4 separate regions of the Homo sapiens genome follow, and all the other regions are linked to region 1. Evidence: promoter capture Hi-C in 16 types of primary human blood cells and fetal thymus (Javierre and others, 2016). All regions are on one chromosome and are shown on one strand. The core of a region is centred on a gene start or on the middle of the fragment in contact, and the rest is flanking DNA. Distances in the headings are between cores, read along the strand shown. Region 1 holds the start of USF1 (upstream transcription factor 1). Region 2 has its middle 24 kb from the start of SLAMF1. Region 3 has its middle 4.9 kb from the start of CFAP126. Region 4 has its middle 28 kb from the start of SLAMF7.

Region 1 (7,604 bases), core at 4,489-6,988:
TCAAGTCCCTGCAGTTCTTCAGACAAGCGGTGGTTACTCTGCCGAAGCTCCTGGATATAATCACAAGCTTTGGATAGAATCCCACCTTTACTCTGCAAGATAAGGTCAACAAAATGAGAACTAGGATTTCAGATACCCAGCTTGCTTTCCAAAAGTAGGTTCACACTTTGGACCTCATTTTCATCTAAGGAAGGTGGTATAATATCTCCCAGGGATACAGGAACCTCAGGGAGAGATAAGACTACTGTCATGTGTGCCCCTCTCTCTACCATTTCTGGAAACAATACCAGGAGGCAGAATTCAGGCATCCTGCCCACTACCAGGGTCTTTCCATGACCTGGCCAGACTTGGTGCTCTCCATAGAGCAGTCTGGGATTATCTTGGAGAGCTGCACGATCCAGTTGTTGATCTTGTCTCGGCGGCGACGCTCCACTGTGGGGCAAAGTGGAGGACAAGGTGACTCAGTGAAAACTCGCCACAAGTCCCAGGGTAAAATTACCTAATCCCTCCTCCCCTCAGACATCACTGCTGAGATCACACCAGACAGCTTCTAGCTCCACCCAGATCATACCTACCTTCATTATGCTGAGCCCTGCGTTTCTCATCCCGAGTCGTCCGGGGAGCTTCTGACTTCCTGACAACAGAGCCCAGGGTGGCCAGAGTAAGAAGACAAAATACATGATTGAAGTTTGGGGTTAAGGAATTATACAAGATTTAGCAGGTATTAGGACCACTTATGGTAGCTAGGTGTGGTGTCTCACACCTGTAATCCCAGCACTTTGGGAGGCCGAGGCAGGCGGATCACTTGAGGTCAGGAGTTCGAGACCAGCCTGGCCAACATGGTGAAACCCTGTCTCTACTAAAGATACAAAAATTAGCCAGGGGTGGTGGTACATGTCTGTAGTTCCAGCTACTCAGGAGGCTGAGGCATGAGAAACGCTTGAACCCTGGAAGCAGAGGTTGCAGTGAGCTGAGATCATGCCACTGCACTCCAGCCTGGGTGACAGAGCAAGACTCTGTCTCAAAAAAAAAAAAAAAAAAAAAAAACCACTTACGGAATCTGAGAAGAAACAAGGGTCACTCACGGGGAATAAGGGTGAGTCCTAGGGGCAATTGAGCGCTGGCTTCCTCCCTGCAGTACTTCTTGTGGTGACATCATCACAAAGAATTGACCTGTGAAGATGCAGGGTAGGTTCTGTCAGGACATGGGTAGGAACCTCACCAAGCCCTGAGGTGAAGACCCTGGTCCCCTCCTCTAAAAAGAACATGCTAATAGAAGAGCAGCCCCAGACTCACTGCCTGTCCAGGTCTTAATGATCACTAAGAGTCATGAGTGAAGGCTCACTGCCTACCAGTCATGTCCCACAGCCTATTCTAGCCCTTTCAGCCAGCATCCTCATGCAATATCTCACCAGTGCCAGGAGGGGTCGCCTGCCCCAGCAGTGCCTCTGAGCCCTGGGTAGTAACAACAGCAGCTGTACTCCCCGATGTGGTACCCCCTGCCCCATCTCCCACTGCCGTGCTGGGGAAGTAAGTATAGTGCGTCTCAGCAGCTGTCCCCTCCGTGTCAACTGCATCATCACTGGTGAAAGCACCCTGGATCACCGCCTGGGAAGGGGAGCAAGAAAACTGATTCTGGTAACAGTCAAAAACTTCTTCCCACTACACCACTCTGCAGCTTCTATCCGTTGGGGTGGTAGGTAGGGTGGAGAGAGAGAGAGAGAGAGAGAGAAACATCCAGAAAAGGAGAGCCTAGTGCTTTGGGACAAGGCAGCCTTAGATGCCTCACTGTTCCTAGCTTCACCCCCATCCTACTGATTCCCTTCTTCATCTTACTTCTCAGAACTCTAGTGACCTCCCCAGCCCATACCCTGTACCTGGGTCATGGATTGAGTGGCAGGGTAGCCACTGATGGCGCCAGTTCCCTCAGTTTGGCCATCCAGCTGCCCCTCAGACACCTGGATCACCCTGTACATCACCTAGAAGTGTAGAGGAAGGCAGAGGGAGTGAAGAGAGAAGAAAAGATTAAGTGTTGGGAATCCTAGGGCCCCTCATAAAGCTTCCCTTGGATAGGGCCCCAAAACAAAGTCCTTCAGAGACATGGATTCAGCCATTCTCCCTTCTTTCCCCACACAGAGGTTTCAGCATACATCTAACCTCACACCAGTCTCTACTCCAGTATTAGCACCTCCCTCCCCTGCAACAGTCCACTCTTTCAACTCATCCTCCAAGCCAGGTCTCCCCAAGACATGTTCAATTACCTCCCTCAATCCCAACCCCAGATAACACCTGCAGCCACCTGGCCCCCTCCCTTACCTGGCCCCCATTCTCAGTTCGGAAGACGTACTTGACGTTGGGGTCAGGGAAGGTGGCAGCTGACTGGATGCTGGCAATAGCCACACTGGTTGGGTCTTCCCCAGTAGCCACTGCACCTGAATTAAAAGAACAAAGGAAAAGTCTGTGAGTTAACTGCCTTTCTACCCCCGTTCCATTTGCATGTCACGGAAGGAGGAGGATGCACAGGAGATGGTCTGGTGGGGAAGGAAGGGAGGCCATGATGGGTTCTTAGTCTTGGTTCTGTTTCTAGCACTCACCTTCCTGAATCTGCACTGTCCCCTCTTCCGTTTCAGCTGTTTTCTGCTGCCTGTTTGTGGTGAAAGGACAAAAGGAAGAGTATGAGAAGAAGTCAATGAGAAGCTCACTGGCCCAGTAACATATGGCTGCAAACTCATTGGCATTCCCAACAGAAGCTGGGTTAGGTTAGAATAACAACTAGTGTTTACTGTTTACTATGTACATAAGCACTAAGCTAAGTACATTACATGTAATCTTATTTAGTACTAAAAACAGCACCACGAGATAGATAGCACTACTTCCATTTTATAGATAGAGAAACCAAATCACACAGTAAGTGATAGAGTAGAACCTGAATCCAGGTCTGCCTGACTCCAGAGGCAGTGCTCTTGGTCATTTTGCATTCTTCCAGGCCACCCATCTTTCATCCCAGACCCTACCTCTTCTTCACTCACCCCTTCATCTCTCTGTGAGGGGGCACATCCGAGGAACTGGTCCTTTTTTGGAGGTCTTTGTATCTCCTGATTCACAGGCCTGAGTGCTAAGTCCTGGTAGAAATCATGAAGTTTGCAATGAGTTTAGGAAACAGAACAGTATCTCTGGTTCTAGAACTTAGGTTCCATGAACACATAGCCAGGAAAATAACCCAGTCATCTGCAGGGGACAATCAGCCTCCACCATACTGATGTTGAGGACTGGCCTACAGTGATTGAAAAAGCAAGGCTACAAATAGTGTTCCCCATCCCTCCATTATCACTCCAACTCCTGGTGGAGAGTGGATAATTATACTGGAAGACAGAAACAACACTTTTTTTTTTTTTTTTTTTTTGAGACAGAGTCTCTCTCTGTCACCCAGGCTGGAGTGCAGTGGCGCGATCTCAGCTCACTGCAACCTCTGCCTCCCAGGTTCAAGTGATTCTCCTGCCTCAGCCTCCGGAGTAGCTGGGATTACAGGTGCACACCACCACGCCTGGCTAATTTTTGTATTTTTAGTAGAGACGGGGTTTCACCATGTTGGCCCGGCTGGTCTCGAACTCCTGAGAGCATGATCTGTCCACCTCGGCAGCCTCCCAAAGTGCTGGGATTACAGGTGTGAGCCACTGCACCTGGCCGAAACAACACATTTCTTTCTTTTTTTTTTTTTTTTTTCTGAGACAGAATCTTGCTCTGTCACCCAGGCTGGAGTGCAGTGGCACAATCTCGGCTTACAACCTCCATCTCCTGGGTTCAAGTGATTCTCCTGCCTCAGCCTCCTGAATAGCTGGGATTATAGGTGCCCACCACCACGCCCAGCTAATTTTTGTATTTTCAGTAGAGATGGGGTTTTACCATATTGGCCAGGCTGGTCTGGAACTCCTGACCTCAGGTGATCCGCCTGCCTCGGCCTCCCAAAGTGCTTGGATTACAGGCATGAGCCACCGCACCCAGCCAACAACACATCTCTAAATGGATCATTAAAGCTATTATGACCTGCCATGATGGCAGCTTCATGGGAATCAGGAAGGGCCATGTATTGGCCCCACCATCAAAAAATACAGTGTCATGGACACTGATGCTTCTTCCAGTTTCTCAGCCACATGTTGTCCATCAAGACATTTCTGTTTTCAAACCTAGGAAGAGGAAATCTGAAGCCCACTACCACTGGAAGAATATCCCTGACCACAAAGACTAGACTTGGCATTTGGGCCCCATTCTACTGACAGGACTCTTGTTTTGGGGTATCCAGATTTATATAATCTGTTAGAAACCCTAAAGCCCAAGTGGATCCTCTTCAAGCATTCTCTATTTTATTCATCAAGCCTTCCTGCAGAACAACACTGTTGCTAAAATGTTGCTATGACAACTCCAAATCAACTAAGCCTGAGCAAGAAGGGGTAAAAAAAAAAAAAACAGGGTTCTGAAGAAGAGACAAAGGGGGAAGAATCCACCTACAAGCTCTGCCTTAGGACCCTGACACCCAGCCAGAGGGCAGGAAAAACAAAGAGCTGGGCAGACATGCCTCCAGAAAGAAACAGCTACACAGTACAAAGCAATAAGATAATCCCAACACAAAAGGGGCAAGATTTTTGGAAATTCTCTACCCATAAGGTCCTCCAAACCTTTCCTATCCAAGGAAAATTTTCAATGGATAAGCCTCGGAAAGACCGCGTCCGAGGAAAATGTTGAAAAAGGAACTGAAAGTGAAACCGTACAGACGAAGTAACGCTGCAAGGAGATCCCAGTCGATAAGGGGAAGTAGCACTAGTGTTTTGGGACCACCTACATTTCCATCTTCAAACCTGAAGAGGAAATGCCCTGCGAAGCTTGCCGCGCTGACTGCAGGGGAAGGCAATGAAATAGAGGGCCCGGCACAGGAGGCATCTCTATTGGCCACAGCTGTCAGCCGGGGCAGTCTCTGAGGACACCCAGCAACGGGGTCAGGGTACTTATTCAAATCTTAGTTGGACATCCGGAAGCATTTCCTAGGCATTAGGGATCGGTGACACGGAAACAGGGATGGGACGTTGTGGTGTGCACGCTCAGGCCAGAAGGGCCCAGTAAGAGCCCTTGCTAAGTCTGGACACAAAGGGAAAAAAAATCAACTCCCGAAAGAAGTCAGGCACCTAGACCTTGCCTTAGAATGAGGCGTCTCCCTGCAGGCTCACCAACCAGAAGGCGCTTACGGAGCTGAGCGCCCGCCAGGCGCGAGCCCGGGAGCCTGCGCCGTGACCCCGCAGCCCCGCAGTCTTAGCCCCGCGCCCCAGCTGCTCCGCGGAGGAGGCAGGAAAGGGCCTCGGGGACTAGGGAGCTCAAGCGCCCGGTGCCGGCGGCTGCGGCGCGCAGCTGGACAGCGCAGGAGGGCTGGGACGCTCGCGCTCTGGGGAAGGGAGAGAGTTTGGCCCACAAAGCAGGGTATGAGATAAAGAACCAGCACAGCCCCCTCCCCCAAAACAAAGGCTTCCTCCCCAGCAGTGTTCTCTAACTTGAAAAACGGAAACAAAATCAAAGCTGCCCTGCCTTGCCAGTCCACCCAGTTTCCAGACTTCTGCCCGGTCCTACACTCACCGGCCAAGGCCGTCTCAGCTGCCGATTTTCTCCAACTGTGTTCTCCCTCTCCCGGCCTAGGTATCTCCATAGACAGCTGCTCATGCGCACTTCCAGCCCGCGGCCATGTTGGTGAGGGGCGGAAGTGTCGCTCTCGCCCCGCCCATAAACTCAAACTCAGAACTGCCCCACTTCCGCTCACTCCATCTTGATGAGAGTTGGTGTTTGTGGGTTATTTGTGAAGCCGGAAAGAAGCCGTGTCCTGGAGAATGTAGCTGAAGGCCTGGCCACTTTCGACAAGAACGGGAAAGAGACGACTAACTTGTACTAATATCTTAGTGCTTGGCAGGGCATTTTTTCATTCCAGGAAAGAAGAGAATCCAGCTGAGATCAAGGGAGGGACGTCCGACGGAGGCGCCATCTTTAACAAGGGCTATTTGGGAGGCCATCTTGGCGCAGGGCGTCTTTTTGAAAGGTTACCTGCTAGAGATTACGACCTATCGGGGCATGCATAGAATTGGATATGTTCCTTGTTATTCGCGTCAGCAGTCACTCATCCAAAGACCCCAAAGCTTCTAGTGTTCTAAAGGCTCACACCTTCTGTGACAGGAATCTTGATTCCCATTCTTCTCAATCAAGACCTACCCTGAATGGATTTGGAGTAGTGTGGTATAATGGGAAAAATTCAAGCTTGGGGGCCAGGCAGATCCAGGTTTCAAACCCATCTCTGCCACTTCTTACCTCTGAGACCTTTGGCAAACATTTTGACTTAATTGAGCCTTAGTTTCCTCATCTATAAACTGGAGATACTAGCACCAACCTTCCAGAATTGTGTGGATTAAATAAAATCAAGGACATAGATTTTGTGAGCACAGGATACTTAGTCCAGTTCCTGGCACATAATGAACGCATTATGTAAATATAAGTTTCTCTTCCTTATTTCCTGACCACCATGAACCTAGCTCTAGTTTCTGGCCACTAGTCTCCATGACAACAACTGAGGAAGAGCACCCAAACAAGAAGAAGAAAAAGAATGTTTTGCCAAATATGTGAAGATATAATACCTATCACCAAAGACTTTAATAAGAATAATGAGACTCCACACTATGTGTAAAAATACAGCTTTTATTCTGAGACATTGACCTTCACTAGAGTGGGACCTGTGGCCCCAGCCTGGCTGGAGAAGCAGTCCCAGGGCCTGAGTGACACCATTTCCCTTTCCTGAAATAGGAACAAGTTATTCCAAAGGAGAAAGGAGAGCCCAGAGAGATCTGTACAGGACCTCTCTTGCACATGGTGACTGGAGGCAGAGGGTGGGGAGCTGGAGAGGAGTCCAGTCCCTCCAACAAATATTGAGGGCTTCAAAGAGCTCTTCCTGGACGTTTCTCTTAATCTGGATTTAAAAGGGACAGGAGGTATCTTAGGGTCCAAGAACATAACAGGAATGGGCAACTCTAGAAGTGTTTGTGTGTGGAAGGCCCTAACCTGGCCCTGTCCTCCCTGTCTCTACCTTTGGCTTTCATGAAGAGAGATTCACAGCTCAGAGGAAGGGAGGAATTTCTCCAGTCTTCACTTTAACAAACTCTTTTAAGTTTTCTGCCTACCTTATGTTCCCTTTGGCCAATGACCCACTCCCTGGGAACAAGATCTTGTTGACTTTCTTGGGAATCTCCTAAGAGATAAGTGCTTTGTGTCGGAGACAAGTTCAGGTAAACCAACCAAGGCAGTGCCTCCCACAGTCAAAGAGAGAAGCTGGAGGGCCAAAGCCTATAGAGTTGGGCACTACAGCTGCTCATGCTGCAGAGGAGACAGCTAGTCAGGAACCCTGGAGATTCAAGACAACTTGCTGGTCCCCTTTGCCCAGGGCTGTGGTCCTAATCACAGTCCTTCACCTTTCCCAGGGTTAGCCTGTGTTTCAAATGCATATGACCTGCGCTGAGAGGACAACAGGGGGTCAGGAACCTGGGGTTCTCTGGGGGGCAGACTAAGACGACTCCGGGATCCAG
Region 2 (7,604 bases), core at 1,588-4,087, 380 kb before region 1:
TGCATTTCAATTTTGTCGGTTGACCCTTTGTAACCATAATTTTCCCTCCAGGTCAGGATCCAGTCCAGTATTAGGTATTGCATTTAGTTGTTGTATCTCTTTAGTACCCTTCAACTGTAACATTTCCACAGCTATATCTTCTCCTTTATGACATGGATATATTTGAAGAATGCAGTCTTCCCACCCTTTCCCTTTTTTTTTTTTTTTCTTGAGGTGGAGTCTTGCTCTGTCACCCAGGCTGGAGTGCAGTGGTACAATCTCGGCTCACTGCAATCTCCACCTCCCGGGTTCAAACGATTCTTCTGCCTCAGCCTCCTGAGTAGCTGGCATGCACCACCACACCCAGCTAATTTTTTTGTATTTGTATTTTTAGTAGAGATGGGGTTTCACCATGTTGGTCAGGCTGGTCTCAAACTCCTGACCTCATGATCCGCCTGCCTCAGCCTCCCAAAGTCCTGGGATTACAGCCTCTCTTTTTTAATAGCAAATTCCTCACTTGGGGTTTTTTGGTATTTCCTTATGATTAGATTCACATTATGCATTCCCAGACTAGGTACTACACAAGTGACATTGTACCCTCAAGGTATCACATCTAGAGACCCTTGATGTCTTCTCATCGATAATGTTAATTTTAATCACCTGGCCAATATATTGCCAACAGATTGCCAGATTTCTCTATTGTATAGTTATCTTTTTTGATTTTAACTAATAACTATGTGTTGGCATACAGTGGAAGGCCATGCAGACATCTTACTCCTCATCAAAATTTCCTCTGAGATTTAGCATCCATTGATAATTTTTGCCTGAGCCTGTCTTAATTGTGATAGTTACAAAATAATAACTTTCTTCACTTTAGCACCTCACTCCATATTTGGCATTCTATTGCAAGCAAGAACCCTCCCTTTATCTATCTGATCTATCGCATCTGTCTTCTCTAGTCAGTTTTGGTAGTCTGTGTGATTCTTGAAATTTTTCCATTTCGTCTAATTTATTTCCATACAATTGTTCATACTATCCCCCTTGTAATCATTTTTATTCCTTTAAAGTCAATAGTAATATCCCCTTTTAATTCTTGATTTTGGTCCTTTGAGTCTTCTCCGTTTTTCATTTTATCAGTCTACCTAAACATTTGTCAGTTTTGCTGATCTTTTCAAATAACCAAACTTTAAATTTGTTTTTCTCTTATTTTTGTATTCTCTCCTTCATTTCTTTCCATTTTTATCTTTATTATTTTCTCCCTCTTGCTTGCTTTGAGCTTAGTTTATTCTTCTTTTTATAGTTTCTTAATGAACTTAGTTCTTCTTTTTATAGTTTATTTTCTTTCTTTCTTTCTTTCTTTCTTTCAAGACAGGGTCTCACTGTGTCACTCAGGCTGGAGTACAGTGGCACAATCACAGCTCACTGCAGCCTTGATCTCCTAGGTTCAAGCAATCCTCCTACCTCAGCCACCAAAGTAGCTGGGACTACAGGCATGAGCCACCACACCTGGCTAATTTTTTAAATTTTTTGGTAGAAACAAGGTCTCACTACGTTGCTGGTCTTGAACTCTTGAGGTCAAGTGATCCTCCTGCCTCAGCTTCTCAAAGTGTTAGGGTTACAAGAATGACCCACTAATCCCAGCCTATAGTTTCTTAAGGTAGGAGGTTAGATTATTGATTTGAGATCTTTCTGTTTTAATTTAGGCATTTACAGCTATAAAAGTTTCTCTAAGCATTGATTTCCTGCATCTCATAAGTTTTTGATATGTAATATTTTTAGTTTTATTCATCTCAAAGTATTTTGTAATTTCCCCTATGATTTATTCTTTGACCCATTGTTTTAGAAGTATGTAGCTTGATTTAGAAGTATGTAGCTTGATGAATTTTCCAAATATCCTTCTGTGATTGATCTATAATTTCACTCCATTGTGGTTAAAAACATACTTTTGACATTTCTGTAATTTTAGTCATTTCATATTTGTTGAGACTTGTTTTATAGCCCAACATATAGTCTATCTTGGAGAATGTTCCATGTGCATTTGAGAACAACAAACACATATTCTGCTGTTGTTGGGTAAAGTGTCCTATAGACTTTGGTTAAGTTTAGTTGGTTTATAATGTTGTTTAAGTCTTCTATTTCCTTGTTGATTTTATGTATAGTTGTTCAATCCATTATTGAAAATGGGATATTGAATTCTCCAGTTATTATTGTTGAATTGTCTATTTATCCCTTCAATTCAGTAAGTTTTTGCTTCATGTATTTTGGGGCTCTGTGCATATATATTAATAATTGTTATATCTTCTTGATGCATTAACTCTTATTATTATAAAATGTCCTTCTTTGTCTTTACAACAATTTTTGTCTTAAATCATATTTTGACTGATCTCAGTTTCTAAACCCAGCTCTCTTTTGGTTATTGCTTCCATAACATAATATACCTTTTTCCACCTTTTACTTTCAACCTATAGGTGTATTTGAATCTAAACTGTGTCCTTTGTACACAACATATAGTGGACCCATTTTTTTTAGTCCACTCTAATAACCTCTGCCTTTTATTTGTAATGTTTAATCCATTTATATTTAATGTAATTTCTGATATGGTAGGATTTATGTTTGCCATTTTCCTATTAGTTTTCTATAGGTTTTTTGTGTGTGTGTGTTCTTCTCTTTCTTTATTAGTGCCCTCTTTTGTATTAAATATATTTTTTCTACTGTACACTTAAGTTCCCTTGTCATTTTTTTTTTTTTACTGTATTTATTTTCTTCATAGTTGGTTTGGAGGTTACAATGATCTTAATTGCAATAATATAATACTTTGTTCTCACACAGCTTTTTCTCCTGCCCACATTTTTTGCTGTTATTGTCATACAAATTACATCTTTATACATGTGTGTCATTAACACAGATTTATAATTATTGTTCTATAAAATTGTCTTTTAAATCAGATAAGAGAAAAAAATTACAAACAAAAACTACACTTATATTGTCTTTTATATACATTTTATGTATCATATGCCAGGGCAGCATGCGCGAGCAAGCGCTGGGAGAGCGAGCGAACGGGGAGCGGAGGCGGCCTGACCGAGTGAGTGCCAGCGAGTGTGGAGTTAGGGGAAGCCGCCTACCCCCGACCCGCTTCCCCATTCCTTCTCTCCCCGTTCCCGTTTCTCCCCCCAACCACCACACCCCGCCCCCCGCCCCCCGAACTCCAAGCAGCACCAAGTCTGTGCCAACGGCTAAAGTCAGTAGAAAGGAGCTCAACTCCAACCGCAACCGGGCAGACGAGACCTCAGAAAAAGAATAGCAAGCAGCAATTGAACACATTTGTGAAGTACAAAATGAAACAGACTTCATGAACAAGCCAGTGAGGAGAATTTGAAAGTAGAACAGAAATAGAACAAACTCTGCCAATCATTTTTTCAGAAGAGGTCAGAATTGATCATTGATGGCCCAAATCCCACATTTTTGGGTAACATCATTTGTCAACCACCCACGAGTGTCTGCACTGCTTGTGGAGGAGGATGAAGAGGCACTGCATTATATGACCAGAGTTGAAGTGACATAATTTGAAGATACTAAATTAGGTTACAGAATAGATTTTTATTTTGATGAACATCCTTACTTTGAAAATAAACTCCTCTCCAAAGAATTTCATCTAAATGAGAGTGGCGATCCATCTTCAAAGTCCACTGAAATCAAATGGAAATCTTGAAAGGATGTAACGAATCGTTCAAGTCGAACGAAGAATAAAGCCAGTAGGAAGAGGCAGCCTGAGGCACCAGAGAGCTTCTTGACCTGCTTTACTGACCATTCTGATGCAGGTGCTGGTGAGTTATGAGAGGTCATCACAGGTAGTACTTGGCCAAACCCATAACAGTGCTGCTTGGTTCCCAATGTGGATGATGAAGAAGAAGGAGAAGAACAAGATGATGATGATGATGAAGAAGAGGAAGGATTATAAGATATTGATGAAGAAGGGGATGAGGATGAAGGCGAAGAAGAGGAAGATGATGATGACGTTGAGGAAGGAGAGGAGGATGAAGGAGAAGATGACTAACAGAACACTGATGTTCTGAACAATTTTTTTTTTAATTTTCTCCAGTCCCTGGGAGCAAGTTGCAGTCTTTTTTCTTTTTTCCCCTCTTGTGCTCAGTCGCGCTGTTCTTGAGGTCTCTTTTCTCTACACCATGGTTTTCAACTTATTTGGGGGGAAATGCCTTGAGCATAATACAATGGGAAAATATTCTCTACCCCTTTCTCTTCAGAATTCATTCTTATCTCTTCCTGTCTGAACAAAAACTGTATGGAATCAACACCACCAAGTTCTGTGGGAGAAAAGAAAAACCTTCTCCCTTTGCTCTGCTGGAAGCTGGAGAGTGCCAGACCCCTGTGTAGCAGTGCATAGAATTCTAGCTTCTTTTCTCCTTTCTCTGTATATTGGGTTCAGAGAGTACCGTGTGTCTCTGTGTGAATATGGACCATCATTTATCAACATGTATCTGTCTACTTTCTCTTGTTTAAAAAAAGAAAAAAAAACCTGTAAAAAATGAGGTTATAGAAAGTCATCAAAGGGTGAGTATGAGATGTTTGGGTGGGTTAAGTGGGCATTTTAACAACATGGCTTCTCCTTTGGCATGTTTATTTTTAAATTTTCTTTTTGTTTCACTGGAAAGGAAAGATGATGCTCAGTTTTAAACATTAAAAGTGTACAGATTTCTTTGTTACAATAAAACTAAATGTATACACACAATAATAATAATAATGAAGCAGCTATGTTGTGTACGGTATATCTGGCCTGAGGACCTGGCCAGTGCTACCAGTAACTATCTTTGACTTTACCTGGAAATTTGCAAAAGAATAGAGCTGACTATTCTCCAGTCTTACCCCTCCAAAGCCCTTGACTGGGGAGGGATCACTGACCTTTTTCAGTGTCTCTTGCCTTACTAGTTTTTCCTTAGGAAAAAATACACCCCACTTTACCATGAATATATATATAAGGTTCTTTACTGAATTGTTCAGTAGATCTCATGAGAACAGGGAACTTGAGGAAGAACAAAGGTTATAAAAATTTGCATAATGAAGCATAGTATCACAAGCCTGGAAAACAATTGGGGCTGATTCAGCTTGAAGAATTCTAAAGTTTTGCACATTAAATCTTGCTATCTAGATGTTAATATTTAGCTTTTCTCTTGATTCTTCAAGTTACTACAAAACCTTTCCCATAAAATTCTTCCCCACCTGTATTTATCTGGGTATCTTGCATACAACCAGCTGATATAGGAGGCACGGTTTCTGTCCTTTTCATCCTTTCTCATCTTTTACAAATGCAAATGCCTCATCTTTGGCCAGATGCTAAGTGAAATTCTCCTTTGCTCACTCAAAGCTGATTTTAAACTGGGGAAAGGTAAACACAGGTGTAAAGGATTAGGCAGAAGATGGGTCCACTGCATTCTAGCTGAATCTCCCTACCGGTGAGATTTTCTCACTAGGTGTCTAAATAAATAAGCAGGCCTCAGTTACATTAGGAAAAGAGATTTCTCTCATTAATATGACTCTGATTTTGTGAAATCATAACCCCAGAATTATTATGACAAATAATATTTCATACTTTGAGAACTGGTTTACTTTTCCAGAGCCACTAGTCAAGATAGCTATTTGCCGTCTAGAAATTAGGCAACAGCTTTATTTAGATACCTTTTTATGCAAATCTTTCCAGCAGCCAGATTGTTTTGTTCTTCTCGGCTATCCTTGCATTCTCCTACTTCCTCCTCCTTGAAGGCTTTTCCACACATACCCCTCTGACCTATCTAACACCTCTCCTTTTTCAGTCTCGATTCCAAAAGGAATCTGACCCTCAAAAGAAGATTCAATCTTCCTGACTTATCTCAGTCTGAAATAGTTCTTCCATCTAGCAATTGTCATATTTGACACATGCAGCCATTGACATCATTGGGATTAAATTACTAATTTCCCTTATGACTATCTTCCAGACCAGAACGAAACATGTAGGAAGACAAGAACTATCCCTGCCATTCTCAGTGTTAAATTTGGAAAGGTGTTTGACTCATAGCAGCTGCTCAATGAATACATCTAACTGTTTTTTGAACAGTCTGAACTTGGTATGTTGGGAGCTAACATCAAAGAACTATTTTCCCCCATTCACATGAGGACTGTGTCAAATCTGCCTCCTATCACTTAAGGAGGTTTTGGGAAAATCATTCACTTTCGTTTCTATCACTTCCAGTAACTTAACAGTACGGCTCAGATGTAAAACTCCCCTTTTACTTGTTCCTGTCACTTCAGCCCAAGCTTGTCTCATGATCTAAAAATCTGTAATAGGGAAGAGGGTGTGGTCTGATCTTTCCCCTTCTATTTTACCTCATCTAGTTCCAGATTCTCAAATCATATAGGGCCAGGAGGAGAGGACCAAATTATGTCTTAGTTACCTGGCTGCTGGTGGTTGTCTCTGTTTTTTGTAGAGCACAGGTGTAACGGCTTTCAGGGTGGGGGTGGGGAACTCTCCACTGAGTAGTGTGCTGATGTGGGAGATCTCTGGCTTGGCCTCTTCCGGCCCTCCTCCCACTCAGCTCCCACCAATGATGTATCAATAAAACCTCTTGCTGCTGGAGATCTGCTTACCTGGTGGCCAGGGTGGCAAGACAAGTGAAGCCTGACTATGCCTGCAGCATCCACTGTGGAAACTACTACATCTTTGCCATGCCAAACAGTGAGTATGCAGGCTGCTCCCGATCTTGCTGCAATGTCATGTTTCTACCATGAAGAAAATCAACAGATCCACTACCCAACCGAGAATTCAGACTTTAGTCTCCCTTTCTTTTGCATACCTTGAACCTCTCATGTGGCACTCTTGGAGGTCTCTTTCATGTGGCACTATGGGTGGAGAACCTTACCCATAGGAAGGGAAGGGGAAAGCTGCAGGACTCCCCAAACTCCAACACTTTTGATCCTGATGATCCTCTTTCTCTCTTCTCTCCCTAGTCCTCTGTTTATATAGAGTGGGGGTGAATAACACTGGGGTAGTAGAACCAGTTCAGTCACCCCTTCCTAAGCCCTAGAGGTGGTGCTGCCCCAATTTATTTGCAGCTTTCTAGAATGTGAAGTCTTTTTGTCCTAGCTCTAAATATGAGGCATTAGGAAAAGTGCCTTTGGAAATCCTATTGCAAATATCTGTTGAGGGAACCAACCAATGTGTTTGCTGCGTTGTCGGCTCCTTAGGAGTCTCTGACCAAGTTAGTCACAGGGATAGGAGACACTTGTTGAGGGGACTGTGTTTCCTATGTCAGTAAAGGAGGAAGGAAACAAACCAAGGCACTGCCTGTCAGGGGATGTGCAGACCCTCATGGGCAGCTGGAACATCAGAGGCAGAATTGGCATGGTGAGGTCTGGGTGAAAAGTGGGAGTTATGAAAAAAAATAATCAGCAGGATGGGATGAGACAGAGGAACAGAAAAATGAGAGATGGAAAGATGATGGGAATAGAACATGATGGTGACAAAAATTTGTAGGAGGAGAAGATGGTGGAGGAGAGAGGAGGAAAGACAGGCAGGCTGGAGTTGGGGGAGGGGACCAGGCAAAAGGAGTGGGCTCTCACTCACCCAACTGGGGCAA
Region 3 (7,604 bases), core at 3,690-6,189, 330 kb after region 1:
TAAAGTATATCCAGGCCGGGCACGGTGGCTCATGCCTGTAATCCCAGCACTTTGGGTGGCCGAAGCAGACGGATCACAAGGTCAGGAGTTCGAGACCAGCCTGGCCAACATGGAGAAACCCTGTCTCTACTAAAAATACAAAAAATTAGCCAGGCATGGTGGTGCATGCCTCTAATCCCAGCTACTCGGGAGGCTGAGGCAGGAGAATTGCTTGAACCCGGGAGGCGGAGGTTGCAATGAGCAGAGATCATGCTACTACTGCACTTCAGCCTGGGCGACAGCGTGAGACTCCGTCTCAAAAAATAAAAAATAAATAAAGTATATCCATCAGTCCCTTCTCTTTTCCTTCTTCCCCCAAAATCCTCATCTTAACCAACACACCAAGTATAAGAGCACTCCTATGCTTCTGCAGATGGAGGGAAGAACAGCTCTTGTTTTATAGGCTCTGGAGTTAATACCTGGATAATGTGAGATCTGGAAAGATAACTCATGAGCTTAGTCCCTGTGGTTCTTATCACTCTCTAGAGAAGAGTTCTTTAAGGACCAAGGACTATCTTTGCTCTAGGATATCCATTTTGGCCCTTTAATCTGCAATGATAGGCTAGCATTATTTCTCTTAGAATTTGTCTTCAGTTGGTATGCCTCCCTCTGCCTTTCTGATAGGAATGTAATGATAAATGATGACTGCACTCATTTTTAAAAGTTAACCAGTTTTTGTTCAATTGAAAAAGTAATGTACATGGAAAAAATTTCATGTTTACAGGATGTTCAGTGAAAAGCAAATCTCCATTTGATTTCAACTCTCAGTCTTGCTCCTCAGGGCAACTGCTGTTACTCATTTCTTGTGTCTCCTTCCAGAAATCTTCTCTGCATACAAACACTAATGAGAGAGCTGTCCACATTGCTTTTTGATTTGCTTTTTGACTATCTTGGGGATTATGTTTTTATCATAATATTCCATTTTGGGATGCACCATAGTTTGTTCAGACCCATATGGATGACCATTTAGTTTATTTATAGTCTTTTGCTAATAAGGACATTGCTGTAATGAAAAATCCCTATGTATCTTTATGAATATGTATGTATGTATTTTTATGTACATATGTGATCTGTAGGATAAATGTTTTAAAGTACATTGCAAAGTCAAAAGGGTTTGTGCATTTAAAATAAGTAGATAGGCCGGGTGCGGTGGCTCACATCTGTAATCCCAGCACTTTGGGAGGCTGAGGCGGGCGATCACGAGGTCAGGAGATCGAGACCATCCTGGCTAACATGGTGAAACCCCATCTCTACTAAAAATACAAAACATTAGCTGGGCGTGTGGCGGGGGCCTGTAGTCCCAGCTACTCAGGAGGCTGAGGCAGGAGAATGGCGTGAACCCAGGAGGCGGAGCTTGCAGTGAGCCACGATCGCGCCACTGCAGTCCAGCCTGGGAGACAGAGCGAGACTCCGTCTCAAAAATAAATAAATAAATAAAATAAAATAAGTAGATAATGTCAAATTACCACTGAAAGACATTGTGCCAGTTTGTACTTCTACCAGTGGTGTATGATGGCGTATGAGTGCCTAGTTCTCTGCTTTCTTTTCAACATCATCGTTTTTTCTTTTTTTTTCAGTTTAAACCAATTTTAATTGAACTAATAGAATTGAACTAATAGAACTAATTGATTGAACTAGTAGAACTAATGTTAACTGAGCAGTTACTATATACATGCCAGGCACAGTTCTAATTGCTTTACTACATTTTCTCATTTAGTTCTCAACCCAACCAAGGAAACTGGAGAATACACAGTGAGGAGTAGAGCCAGGATTTAATCCCAAGTATTCTGACTCTAGAGCCAGCAGTTTTAACCATTATATCATATTGCTTGTTAAGCTGTAGGTTAAACATGGTATATAATTTTATTTTTTGTTTTTGTTTTGAGACGGTCTCCCTGCCGCCTAAGCTCTGGAGTGCAGTGGTTCCATCAATATCCTGAGGTCAAGCAATCCTCCCACCTTAGCCTCCCAAGTAGTTGGGAGTATAGGCATGAGCTACCATGCCCAGCTAATTTAAAAAAACAAATTTTTTTTAAGAGATAGGGTCTTAACTATATTGTTCCTCTTGTCTTGAATTCATGGCCTCAAGTGATTCTTCGACCTCTGGAAGTGTTGAGATTACAGGCACGAGCCACCACACCCACCCAACATGGTATATCATTGTTTTAAATTTGCATTTCTTTAATTAGGGTGTTTTTATATGTGTATAAACTGTTTTTATTTTAATTTTTTTCCCTGAAAATGGCCTTTAATGTATTTTGCCACTTACTATTGGGCTGTTGACTTTTTTTTTTGAAACCAGTCCTCCCTCTGTCACCCAGGCTGGAGTGCAGTGGCATCATCTTGGTTCACTGTAACTTCTGCCTCTCAGGTCCAAACAATCCTCCCACCTCAGCCTCCCGAATAACTGGAACTACAGGGATGCACCACCACACCCAGCTGATTTTTTAATTTTTTTTGTAGAGATGGGATTTTGCCATGTTGCCCAGGCTGGTTTTGAACTCCTGGGCTCAAGCCATCTGCCCACCTCAGCTTCCCAAAAAGCTGGGATTACAGGCTTGAGCCACTGCACCCAGCCTGTTGATCATGTTCATTAATCTGTTTGAACTCCATATATTAAGGAAATTAGTCCTTTGTCAAATATGTTGCAAATATTCCCTCCAATTTGTCACTTACTTTCATTTTGTTGGTGGTTTTTCTGTTTTGTTGTTGTTTTTCTGTGGGTTTTTTTTTTTTTTTTTGCCATGGACATGTTTTTAGTACTTATGTAGTAGTCAGATGTATTACTCATTTTTTCTGTGCTCTGGATCTTATGCTTTGAATGGCTTTTTGTGAATTCCAATATTTTAAAAATAATTTACCCCTAGCTTCAGTTCTTACATTTAAATATTTGTTCCTTCTGGAATTTTAGTGAATGTGGACAAGGTTATGCTTCAGTTGCCTTAACTAGTTGCCTTGGCATCATTAATAAGTTTTCTTTTCCTCTACTGATTTGAAATGCCATTTTTAATGTATTCCCTAACATATTTGGGTCTGTTTCTGGATCCTCTAACCCACTGTTCTAGAGAGAAAGGTGATCGTTTTAGATTATTTGTCTCTCTGTAATCTAAAATCCAAGGTACACGCTGGGCACAGTGGCTCACACGTGTAATCCTAGCACTTTCGGAGGCTGAGGCAGGTGGAACAGTTGAGGACAGAAGTTCGAGACCAGCCTGACCAACATGGCGAAACTCTGTTTCTACTAAAAATACAAAAATTAGCTGGGCATGGTGACACGTGCCTGTAGTCCCAGCTACTCGGGAGGCTGAGGCAAGAGAATCGCTTGAACCCGGGAGGTGGAGGTTGCAGTGAGCCGAGATTGCGCCACTGCACTCCATCCCCCGGGCGACAGAGTGAGACTCCATCTCAAAAAAAAGAAAAAAAAAGGCCAGGCGCGGTGACTCACGCCTGTAATCCCAGTACTTTGAGAGGCTGAGACGGGAGGATCACGAGATCAAGAGATGGAGACCATCCTGGCCAACATGGTGAAACCCCGTCTCTACTAAAAATACAAAAATTAGCTGGGCGTAGTGGCGCGCGCCTGTAGTCCCAGCTACTCCAGAGGCTGAGGCAGAAGAATCGCTTGAACCCGGGAGGCGGAGGTTGCAGTGAGCCGAGATTGCGCCACTGTGCTCCAGCCTGGCGACAGAGTGAGACTCCGTCTAAAAAAAAAAAAAAAAAAATCCAAGGTGGAGTCCTGGCTTGATCCTATGTGAATTCTAATATTTAAGATTTCAGGCCGGGCGCGGTGGCTCAGGCCTGTAATCCCAGCACTTTGGGAGGCCCAGGGGGGTGGATCACAAGGTCAGGAAATCGAGAGCATGCTGGCTAACACGGTGAAACTCCGTCTCTGCTAAAAATACAAAAAATTAGCCCGGCGTGGTGGGGGGTGCCTGTAGTCCCAGCTACTCGGGAGGCTGAGGCAGGAGAATGGCGTGAACCCGGGAGGTGGAGCTGGCAGTGAGCCGAGATCGCGCCACTGCACTCCAGCCTGGGCGACAGAGCGAGACTCCGTCTCAACAAAAAAAAGATTTCACTAGGAAATTGTAATATCAGTAGTAACAGGCAATTTTAAGCTTCTAATAAAAGTGTATTGAATTTTAGCCTTTCTTCAGATGAACTGGTTGACTTCAGGTACAGCAGATGGTCTTTTACTAGGACCAGATTTACTTCTTCCAAAGTTGGAAGGGCTCTTTAAAGGCCCCATCCTTTACGTATGCCTTAAGATACTTTTTTCCATTCACTTAAATTCTTTGATGACTGAAACTAAACCATTAGGAAATCTTTTATTTGGACTGAGATTATCTGCTATTGAAGTACAAGTTTAACCTGTACTCTATAGGCGATGTGTACATTGGACCTACGTGAAGGCAACCACCAGCATAAGTACTAGAGTCACATTGCCTGGATTAAATTCTGGCTTTGCCTAAATGTGTGGCCTTACACAAGTTAATCTTTCTGGGTCTCAGTACCCTTACATGTAAAATGGGGATAATCTTAGTTTTGAGCATTAAATATATGTAACATGCTAATAGGGTGCAAGATGCATAATGAATGCTCAATTATTTTAGCATTATTATTGGCTTAAGACTGCCAAGTAAGAAGTACTCATTCAGGTTACCTTAAACAAAAAAGGGGAAGTGGGGAAATTATAATTAATAGGAGTATTTAACAGATTCCAAAGGTAGGAAGTATAGTTTGGGCTTCAAAGGATACTAGAATTTCAAAGATAGAACATGATCAGAAAGATTTTCTGTTTCTTCTTTATCATCTCTGTTTCTCACTGCCTTTATTCTTTTCTTTTCTTTTTTTTTTTTTTTTTGAGATGGAGTTTCGCTCTTGTTGCCCAGGCTGGAGTGCAATGTGCGATCTCGGCTCACCGCAACCTCCGCCTCCCGGGTTCAAGCGAGCGATTCTCCTGCCTCAGCCTCCCGAGTAGCTGAGATTTTAGGCATGCACCACCACACCCGGCTAATTTTGTATTTTTAGTAGAGACAGGGTTTCTCCATGTTGGTCAGGCTGGTCTCGAATGCCTGACCTCAGTTGATCCGCCCACCTCAGCCTCCCAAAGTGCTGGGATTACAGGCGTGAGCCACCGCGCCCGGCCTCCCATGGCAATTTTTAAAACCAGAAAAAATTATTAGTAACCCCTTCATAGTAAAAATGGGGCATTTATCTCATCTATTACACAGTGTAACCACCTGAATCACTGTCTCTAGTTATACCATCAGCTCTCTACTAAGGTTTCTTCTAAGTAGCTCCAAGGTGCCCTCCATGTCACCTCACTGGGTCAGGTGTTGATGGGTCTTGGATAGGAGACCTGGCTTTTGCCCCATTTCCTGGGCTAACAGGATTTCATCCAACCAAGCTACTGGCCAAATTTTGAACTATTCAAACACCCTGGTTTTTGTAGATTTCCTTATAGGAAATGAAGGCGTAGTTCTGACCCCTGAAGAGATGCATGGCTACAAATGTAAAAGCTATAGTTTCAAAACTTCTCTATAGAGTTAAAATAGCTGATCCAGTTTTCTTTCCTGAGACTAAGGCTCCCTCTCTCGGAGACTGCTGTTACATCTCTCCTTTCCACTGACAATACCACAAAAGAATAATATTCTTGATAAGATCCCCTTCCTGAGGAGCCAAAGAACAAGCTTTGTATACTCCCCACACACTGCCTATGGGGTAGCCCTCTCTGCAGCATTCATAGAGCTATTTAACACTATTTCTTTTTCTTTTCTTTCATTCCTTTTTTTTTTTTTTTTTTTTTGAGACAGAATCTTGCTCTGTTGCCCAGGCTGGAGTGCAGTGGCACCATCTCAGCTCACTGCAACCTCCGCCTCCCAGGTTCAAGTGATCCTCCTGCTTCAGCCCCCCTCCATAGCTGGGATTATAGGCACACACCAGCATGCCCTGCTAATTTTAGTATTTTTAGTAGAGACAGGGTTTCGCCATGTTGGCCAGGCTGGTCTGGAACTCCTGACGTCAGGTGATCCACCTGCCTTGGCCTCCCAAAGTCGTTGGATTACAGGCGTGAGCCACTGTGCCTGGCCTATAACACTATTTCTTAAAACAAAACAAAAAGACCAAAGAACAAGCTTTAAACAACCAAAATGACTGAAAAGACATCAGTATCTCTCACTAGTGGTGTGAATTAAGTTTGTTTACTTGCATAACTAAGAATAAATGATGGTTATAATGGCACCAGTATAGGATATCTTGGCTATGTGCTTTAACAATATACAGGTTGACCATGAAGTCTGGAAATAGATACTATTATTTTATCATGTATTTAAATATATTAATAAACCATTAATATGTATTCATTAACTTTTCCACATTTCTTGGCAATCTTGTAAATATAGTACAACTATCAGTAAAGAGAGATTAGGGGGCTGGGCACGGTGGCTCACGCCTGTAATCCCAGCTTTTTGGGAGGCTGAGGCAGCGGATCACTTGAGGTCAGGAGTTCAAGACCAGCCTGGGCAGCATGGTGAAACCCCGTCTCTACTAAAAATACAAAAACTAGCCAGCTGTGGTGGCACACGCCTGTAGTCCCAGCTACTTGGGAGGCTGAGGCAGGAGAATTACTTGAATCCGGGAGGCGGAGGTTGCAGTCAGCCGAGATCGTGCCGCTTTAGTCCAGCCTGGGCGACAGAGCGAGACTCCGTATCAAAAAGAAAGAAAGAAAGGGTTTAAATAAAGAAAGAGAGAAAGAATGGGTTTACCTACCTATTAAAAGAAAATAGTTTTCACATTGACAAAGCAAAGTCCAACACTGTGCTATATAAAAGAGCTACATCTAAGAAGAGTTTCAGGAAGCCTAAATAAATGACTAAGAGATGTACCAGAATTTATTCCTAAATGTAAGCAGGGGTTGCAGTTGTAATTATCCATCAAAGTAGAATTCTGACTAAAAAGCATTACTTTTAATGAGAAAAGAGAAAGAAATTTTAGCCACAATTTTTATAAAGATAATGACATTTTATACAAGGAGAAATAGAAGCACACTATAATAGGAGGACTAACAAATCCCTCAGATCTAGAAAGGTCAAGTGAACAATAAGTTAGGATACAGAAGACCTAAACAACATAATAAATATATTTAAGTAGATTTAATAATATTAAACTCTGAACCTTAATAATAGAGAATAAACTTTTTAAAAAAATGCGTAAAGGGCTGGGCGTGGTGGCTCATGCCTGTAATTCCAGCACTTTGGGAGGCCGAAGCGGGTGGATCATGAGGTCAGGAGTTTGAGACCAGCCTGGCCAACATGGTGAAACCCCATCTCTACTAAAAATACACAAAATTAGCTGAAGATGGTGGTGGGCGCCTGTAATCCCAGCTGCTCGGGAGGCTGAGGCAGAATTGCTTGAACCCAGGAGGAGAGGTTGCAGTGAGCCGAAATCGTGCCACTGGACTCCAGCTTGGGCGACAGAGTGAGACTCCATATCAAAAAAAAAAAAAAAAAAGAAAAAGAAAAAAAGAAAAAAATGCATAAAGCATTCACAAAAATGTGGCACATTCA
Region 4 (7,604 bases), core at 3,353-5,852, 280 kb before region 1:
GAGTGGCTGTGGTTCCCACTGTAAGATGTAATCAAAGTGAAGAGTGATCGTGGAGCTCTCCAAGGATGCTGGGGCTCCCCTCATAAATTTATTTCTCATAATGTGTAAAAGTTACGTCTTCTGGATACTCCCAGTGTGGGTGAGTAAGTCTTAAATAATATATTCATTCTAACATTCGAATCTCTCAAAGTCTCTGATCCTTTTCTCTACACTAAACAAGGGAGGTCAGGCATTTCCATTTCTTACGGTGGGTAAATTTTGGTCCGTGATTTCAATCTACCAGACAACCTCTTGGGCCCTTTCAAACATCATGAGCTGCAACACTAAATGTAGAATCTCTGCTCAGTCAGCATATTAACTAATAAATAAAGTGAGACCCAACTTTATGTTCCTTCTACCATTACCCCACACCCTTATTATCCATTCCCACAGGTTTCCCAGATTTTTGTTTATATAAGTTAGAAAACTCATGTAGTTCTTTTGGAATATAGTGCACCTCCTCATGGGTCCCACTTTGTACCTCATCTTTAGGGGCCTCCTGGGACTTGAGTTTAGTTATAGGTCTCAAAGCAAAGAGGGGTGGGGAGAGTGGGTCCGGAATCAGTAGTGTTTTGCATGGTAATTGCCTTAGGGGAAGGCATTACTCTTTTCTTTGGCAATGTGGCACCTCAGAAGGAGGTGGAAAGACCAAGACCACTGTGGGTGGGGAGGCTACTTTCACTGGGGATGAAGGAGGACTTTTCCACTGGCAAAGAAGGTTCATAAGCATATAGGGGCTGAATATCCCCAGCTCTATCATGGTATTCCCAATGTCTCTTTCTCAGCTTACAGGATATCATTCTTTCCCAATGAATGCCATCGCTTTAACAGTAGACACCCTGCAAGTTTGGGAGTTCAACTTGTATTGTAATTCAGCCAATCACAGGATGAGGTTCTGCATTTGGTTTTCAGCCTCTCAGCTATAGGAGATAAGTCTCTTCTTCAGGGCACACTACAAGCTTTTAGGTCATTTATGCCATGCTCCAGTTGGGATATATATATATATATATATTTTTTTTTTTTTTTTTTTTTTGAGATGGAGTCTCGCTCTGTCACCCAGGCTGGAGTGCAGTGGTGCCATCTCAGCTCACTGCAACCTCTGCCTCCCAGGTTCAAGCAATTCTCTTGTCTCAGCCTCCCAAGTAGCTGGGACTACAGGTGCCCGCCACCACACCCAGCTAATTTTTGTATTTTTAGTAGAGACGGGCTTTCACCATGTTGGCCAGGCTGGTCTCGAACTCCTAACCTCAGGTGATCCATCCACCTCGGCCTCCCAAAGTGCTGGGATTACAGGGGTGAGCCACTGGGCCCAGCCTCCAGTGGGGAATTTAAATCCCCAAGCTCATCCCTTTCTTTCACCACTTTGTCCATTGATATTAGGAGAAACCAACCAATGTCATTGTGTTCTCTTATTTTCTAAAAATGTTTAAAAGTATCATATACAGAGTAAATGAGCTCCTTGCTTCATATAAGTGATTAGATATAAGTTGATTAGAAGTATTCAGTGCAGATATTTTTCCTATCTCTATATAAATAGTGTATGTCACAGACTATCACTGCTTTCCTTACTACTAGAAATAGTCATTAGTATCTTTAAATCTAATCAGATTGGAGAGCCAATTCCAGAGACTCCAGAGCCAATTCAGAATAACCATTCTTAAAATTGTTTCCTGTAGAACCACTCTCAGTACCAAACTCTATATTAGCCAGGGTTCTCCAGAGAAACAGAACCAATAGGATGGAGATATATGCATGTATAAAGATTTATTATAGGCATTGCCTCATACAGTTATGGAAGTCAAGGAGGTCCCATGATCTGCTGTCTACAAGCCAGAGAACCAGGATAGCCAGTCGTATAATTCCGTTTAAGCCTGAAGACCTTAGAATTAGGAGGCCAGTGGTATAAGCCTCAGTCTGAGTCCAAAAGTCCAAGAACCAGGATTGTCAATGTCTGAGGGGAGGAGAAGATGGATGTCTCAACTCAAGCAAAGAAACTAATTTCCTTCCATCCTTCACCTTTCTGTTTTTATTTTATTTTTTAATTTTTATTTTAGGTTCAGGGGTATATACGCAGATGTGTTATGTAGGTAAACTCGTGTCATGGGGATTTGTCAGGTAGATTATTTCATCTCCCGGATACTAAGCCTACTATTCAATCATTATTTTTTCTGCTCCTCTCCCTCTTCCCACCCTCCACCCTCAAGTAGGCCCCAGTGTCTGTTGTTCCCTTCTTTGTGTCCATGAGTTATCACTTAGCTTCCACTTATAAGTGAGAACATGCAGTATTTGGTTTTCTGTTCCTGTGTTAGTTTGCTAAGGATAATGGCCTCCAGCACCATCCATGTTCCCGCAGAAAACATGATCCCATTCTTTTTTATAGCTGCATAGTATTCCATGGTATGTATATATTTTTAATTGACAAATGATAATTGTACATATTCTTGGAGTACATAGTGATGTTTAGAGCCATATAATTTGTAGTGATAACATAAGGGTAATTAACATACTTGTCATCTCAAACATTTATCATTTCTTTGTGTTGGGAACATTCAATGTCCTCCTTCTAGTTATCTAAAACTGTACATTATTGTTAACTGTAGTCATCCTAGAGTGGTATAGAACACTATAACTTATTCCTCTTATTCCTCCTATCTAGCTATAATTTTGTAATCTTTAACAAGTCCTTCCTTATCCCTCCTCTCTGCGTTTTTGTTCTATTCAGGTCCTCGATAGATGTGTGATGCCTGCCCTCATTGGTGAGGGCAATCTTCTTTACTTCATCTACTGATTCCAATGCTGATGACCTCTGAAAACACCCAGCAACAATATTTTATCTGGTATCTGAGCATCCCTTAGCCCAGTCAAGTTGACACATAAAATTTACCATGACAAGGACCAAGAGTTGTTTTCCCTCTGCCAAGGTAGATCCTGTATAAGGCAGGGACAGCCGCATGGGATAGCTTCCAGAAGGGACAATCCTGGAGCTGAGTTAGTCTGGGAAGAAAGCAAACAAGATGAGGACAGGGAGAGATGAAGGTGAGGCCCAGAGGCTAACCACTAAGATCTCCACTTCAAAGATGGGCAGACAGCAAGGCAAGTGGTTGAGGCAGTTAAGAGGAGACATTGGTGTGGATCCTGGCTCTACTTTAGGGCTGAGGCTACCTAAAGTTTTTGCTTTTGCTCTTCCATGCATACCACCTCCATCCCAAACAAGGCAGAATAAAAAACCAGGGGTGAGCTGGCTTAGAGCACCAGGAAAACGAAAGGAAAGGATGTGTAATTAAAAAGGGGAAAAAGAAGAAAAAACCCATGCTACCCACAGTGGTTAGTCACTAATCTGCATTACTTTCACCACACTGAAAACTTGGAGAGGAGAGAGGAAGAGATACAGAGAGGGGAGGGGGGAGAGAGAGAGAGAGAGAGAGAGAGAGAGAGAGAAAGAGATAGAGAAAGAGAGAGAGAAAGAGAAAAGCAACTCTGGACGTCATGTATCTTCTCTTAGTCCTATGACCATGAGCAAAATGCTTAGTTTCTTGGAACCTCAGTTTTCTCTTCTATAAAATGTGAAAGATACTTTCTACCTCATAGGATTGTAGTGAGATTAAAGGTAAAGATAATCATACACGTAAAGTGTTCAGCAGAGTATAACATCACAGTCCTTCGACAGAAGTTACCTCATCATAAAGAGACTACTGGCTAATTATATAGATTCCATTCAGAACTGAGCCTCTAGAACTTTAAGTATAAAGAGTAACTGAAGACCTGAGAATAGCAGTTAATCATATCATTATAAAGTTGAGGCATATAATAAGAGGCAGCTGACCAGTGCTCACAGATCAAGCAAAGTAGCAAACACTCCCCTCTGTGTCATTCACTCATTCACGCCACCCTTACAGAAGGCTTGTCAGCTATAAGGCTCTGAGCTGTTCCTCCCCTCACTCCTCCGGTGCTCTTTCTAGCTCCTCCTCTTTGCTGTGTTCTCCATGTTCCCTCCCAGTCACTTGCATGCTGGGACCTGTGCATCTCCCCAGGAGCAGAAGCAAGCCTTGCTGAGTCAGGCTGCTAAACGGACTTTCTGGTTCTGGAGGTTCTGCAGGCCCAACTGTCCTGTGGGTACAACTCTGCCTGTCTCCTCCTGGTCAGTTAGGGACCTAGCACAATCCCTCTGATTGCTTGGCTCTGTGGAGAGCCTGTTCCCTGCTCCCATCTCACTTGGACCCAGTGAATTTCATTCATTTCCTGCTTTGCCTGGTCCCTGGATCTGTCTGATGCCTACTGGTCAAGCCCTGGTCTGACTTCCTACCCAGCCTCATACCCTCCAATCCAGGCAGCCTCCTCGCCACTATGACAACCGTAGGGTCTGGAAGGCCCCATGGGAATGTAAGCTTCATAAACGGAGGGAATTTTTGTCTGTTTCCTTCACTTTTCTCTTCCCAGACCTAAATCAGTCCCAAACATCTATTTAAAACTTACACAGAGAATTTTGGAGCTGGAAGAGACTCTAAGGATCATGTAGTCTAACTCCCTCATCTCAGAGAGAGAAAATGAAAGCAAGGTCACAATGCAGGCTGATGGTGACAGGATCCTCCAAGCCACACAGCAAGCCCTGGGTTAGCTCACTGCTGCCTCCTCTTGGCCCAGCTGGCAAACCATGCACATATTCAGCAATTTTACTAGTCTGTTTCTTGTTTTGTTGTCTGTTTTTCAATAAAATATAGAACCTTATGAAAATACCTGCACATTAAGCTTCATGAACACTGAGGAAAACACACAGTATTTCCTCTTCTTCTTCTTCTTCTTTTTTTTTTTTTTTTGAGATGGAGTCTCACTCTGTTGCCCAGGCAGGAGTGCAGTGGTGCAATCTTGGCTCACTGCAACCTTCATCTCCTAGGTTCAAGCAATTCTCCTCCCTTAGCCTCCTGAGTAGCTGAGGAGCTGGGATTACAGGTGTGCACCACTACACCCAGCTAAATTTTGTATTTTTAGTAGAAATGGGATTTCACCATGTTGGCCAGCTGGTCTCAAACTTCTGACCTCAGGGGATCCACCTGCCTCAGCCTCCCAAAGTGCTGGGATTACAGGCATGAGCCACCGCACCCGGCCTTACACACAGTATTTCTGTAGAGTAAAACTGTTGAATGGAATCTGCTTCTTAAAGTCTTCTAAGGGAAGAATATTGAGGTAACATAATCTGAATGAGAGTCTAAAAAGAATACAAGGAAAAGAATAGCTTAGAAGGCAAAATATAAGGCTGTATGAATAGAAAGGAAATAGATACCCCTGAATTTTGTGTCCATTTTTCAATTTCCTTATTGCTTCGAAATTTAAAATAAACATCAGCAGGGATGTGAACTCTCCCTAGCCAAACCCAGAACTGTGGGAAAGGCAAACAGCAATGGATAGGTTGCTTCTCTCACAGAGACTTTCATTCATTCATTCTGTTTTTGTTTTTGTTTTACATTCACTTACTCTGTAAGACAAAGTAGCAAACATAAGAGGCCATGTTTGCTCATTCAGCTGCCAGCAGAATTTCACAAAGCCCCTGACTCAGTGACTGAGGACAGCCCTTCGGAAGGATGCCCTGAAGATGATAAGAAGGATGGAGCCCAGGTTACCACATCTCTTACCTAAATCACTGCATTTTTAGAAAAGATAAATTCAATGATCCTGGCCTTTGTCTTTTTGCTGTACATAAGATAATGGTTGACAGGATTAATCATTATGCCTCTGTAATCTATAACTAGATGTACCCTTGCACCCAAACTTTGGTGAAATTTTGCTCTTACATAACTTTTGAGCACAGGCAGAATGACTGTCACCTTATGTATAAGCTGTAGGCTGAAACACTGCTTTGGAGCAGTCTAACAGAAACTCTCCGAAAGACTCTCCTGGGTTGCCAACCTCAGTAAGACTAAATAAAACTCACTTTAATTCTTTAAAAACTTGGCTTTTCTTTAGTTGACAAGTGTTTCAGCAAGTATTTAGTGAGCACCAACTATGTGCTATGGCCAAGAAGCAGGGATGGATAAAGCATGACCCCTAACTTCAAAGAGCTCACAACCGATGGAAAAACAAATGGGTCAAGAAGCAACTTGACACAGATTGAGCCAGATGGAGAAAGGTCAATGAGTCCCCTCGAGGAGAAAGAAAAGCAAGGTCATAACACAGAGACATGTGTAGTGACCGTGGGGCTTTAATGGCTGTACTTTGGGGTGTGGAGAGAGTGGGTAAAACTACAGAGATGCCAGATTGTAGCAATCTGTTTACTTTTCGGCTAAGAAAAATGAAGGGGGCTTTTCCAACAATTTGTTTTTGCATAGTCTGAACTGTCAACTTACTCTTTCATAGGGTGGTAATCGATCTGCTCCTAAGGGTCATTAGTCGTTTCCTCCTCTTTCAACCTGTTCTCACCTCCTCCTGTCACACAGCAAGGGCATCTGGCAGCACCAAGGCAGGAAGCCTTCAGATACATACAGTTCATACTTCACACCTAAAACAATTTCCAGTAGACACTCACTTCCCTGGCTTTTTGTGGGTAAGTGGCAGGATTTGAGCTCTTCTCTTCTAGTGCAATCTCAGAGCTTTCAGTATCTTGGGACCTTTTCCAGCAGGCATTAGCTTCTCTATCTTGGGACCCTTTCCAGCAGGCATTAGCTTCTCATTTTGCTACCCCGAAGTTAGGGGCCAGGAGATGAAGCATTCCACTCCTACAAAATGCTGGTGACTTGAAGAGCTCAAAAACAGGCATTGTACTAATTCTTCCTTCTCCTTCACATTCAGACGGCAGGCTGCCGCCCAAGAGTTAAGGGGTTCTGGTTCTCTTCAGACGCAAAGAGTGAATAGTGCTCTGTGGCAGAGGTTTGTATTTATACGTCTATGCCTTTAACAATGGTGCATTTGCTCTCAGGATCATGCTACCTGGAGTCCCTGAATGACAGTTGTCTGGAATAACAAGCAAGATCACTGACAGCCCCAGAACTGCTTCCCTAGCTATGAAATTTTGTTATATCTGTAAATAAGCATAAATATTAACTAGTCAGTAATGTTGAATTTTGTTGAATGTATAATTGGACCTAGATTTGGAGAAAAGATATTCAACTCTAATTTTGTTTCAACTAAAATTTGACTGATTAGTCTCTGCCTCTTTGTTTAAACCATTCACTCTTCCTGTAGAACCCCGTGGCCCATTAAAATCCTCCCATTTCCACCCAGTCAAGTTCCTAGACCTTTGAGTTCTCTTTTTGGTTATTGTTCTTCATCTCTTGGTGCATGTGCTTTCTAATATTTTAATTTTTTTCAAAATACTACATATATATAGTTATAAAATTCAACTAATAGCATAAGACATAATAAATTTTGAAAAAAAAAAAAGCAGCAGTCTTCTGCCACACTACACCCAGAACTGCTGTTCTGGCAACTGTTGTGCTGGCAACCACTGTCAATTATTTGTTTTTTCTCATGATACTTCCTTGATATTTAGAAATGATATATTTGTTCTGTCCTTTCTTGATTTTAGACATTAGTTATTGACTTCCTGCTATGGAGATAGGTATTTGGCTCTCTCA

Evidence for each region. The method cuts DNA at HindIII sites, captures the fragments that hold promoters and counts their contacts. A CHiCAGO score of 5 or more calls a contact.
Region 2: a fragment that was not itself captured here is called in contact with the fragment with the promoter of USF1 in region 1 in 1 of 17 cell types (M2 macrophages); the score reaches 5.4 in M2 macrophages.
Region 3: a fragment that was not itself captured here is called in contact with the fragment with the promoter of USF1 in region 1 in 3 of 17 cell types (naive B cells, megakaryocytes and M1 macrophages); the score reaches 7.3 in naive B cells.
Region 4: a contact is called between a fragment that was not itself captured here and the fragment with the promoter of USF1 in region 1, in 1 of 17 cell types (fetal thymus). The highest score is 5.2, in fetal thymus.

Annotation. Positions count from the first base shown.
Region 1 is chr1:161,040,239-161,047,842 of GRCh38, forward strand. It overlaps USF1 (upstream transcription factor 1), which reads right to left and starts at 5,739. Exons shown (of 11, transcript NM_007122.5): 1 at 5,620-5,739; 2 at 3,030-3,122; 3 at 2,595-2,644; 4 at 2,317-2,432; 5 at 1,878-1,979; 6 at 1,413-1,608; 7 at 1,086-1,173; 8 at 576-634; 9 at 338-432; 10 at 1-92. The coding sequence starts at 3,037. ARHGAP30 (Rho GTPase activating protein 30) reads right to left here. Exons shown (of 12, transcript NM_001025598.2): 12 at 6,708-7,604. The coding sequence ends at 7,477. RefSeq lists enhancers at 4,539-4,768, 4,828-5,708, 5,307-6,506, 5,619-6,098, 5,709-6,589 and 1 more. The HindIII fragment of the contact is 1,293 bases long and covers 4,876-6,168 here.
Region 2 is chr1:160,666,952-160,674,555 of GRCh38, forward strand. It overlaps the pseudogene SETP9. Among named protein-coding and RNA genes, the nearest start is that of SLAMF1, 24 kb to the left of the region's middle. RefSeq lists enhancers at 6,022-6,081, 7,271-7,604. The HindIII fragment of the contact is 6,892 bases long and covers 1-6,283 here.
Region 3 is chr1:161,368,936-161,376,539 of GRCh38, forward strand. No RefSeq gene overlaps it. Among named protein-coding and RNA genes, the nearest start is that of CFAP126, 4.9 kb to the left of the region's middle. The HindIII fragment of the contact is 1,575 bases long and covers 4,153-5,727 here.
Region 4 is chr1:160,763,847-160,771,450 of GRCh38, forward strand. No RefSeq gene overlaps it. Among named protein-coding and RNA genes, the nearest start is that of SLAMF7, 28 kb to the left of the region's middle. RefSeq lists enhancers at 4,097-4,146, 4,177-4,626. The HindIII fragment of the contact is 361 bases long and covers 4,423-4,783 here.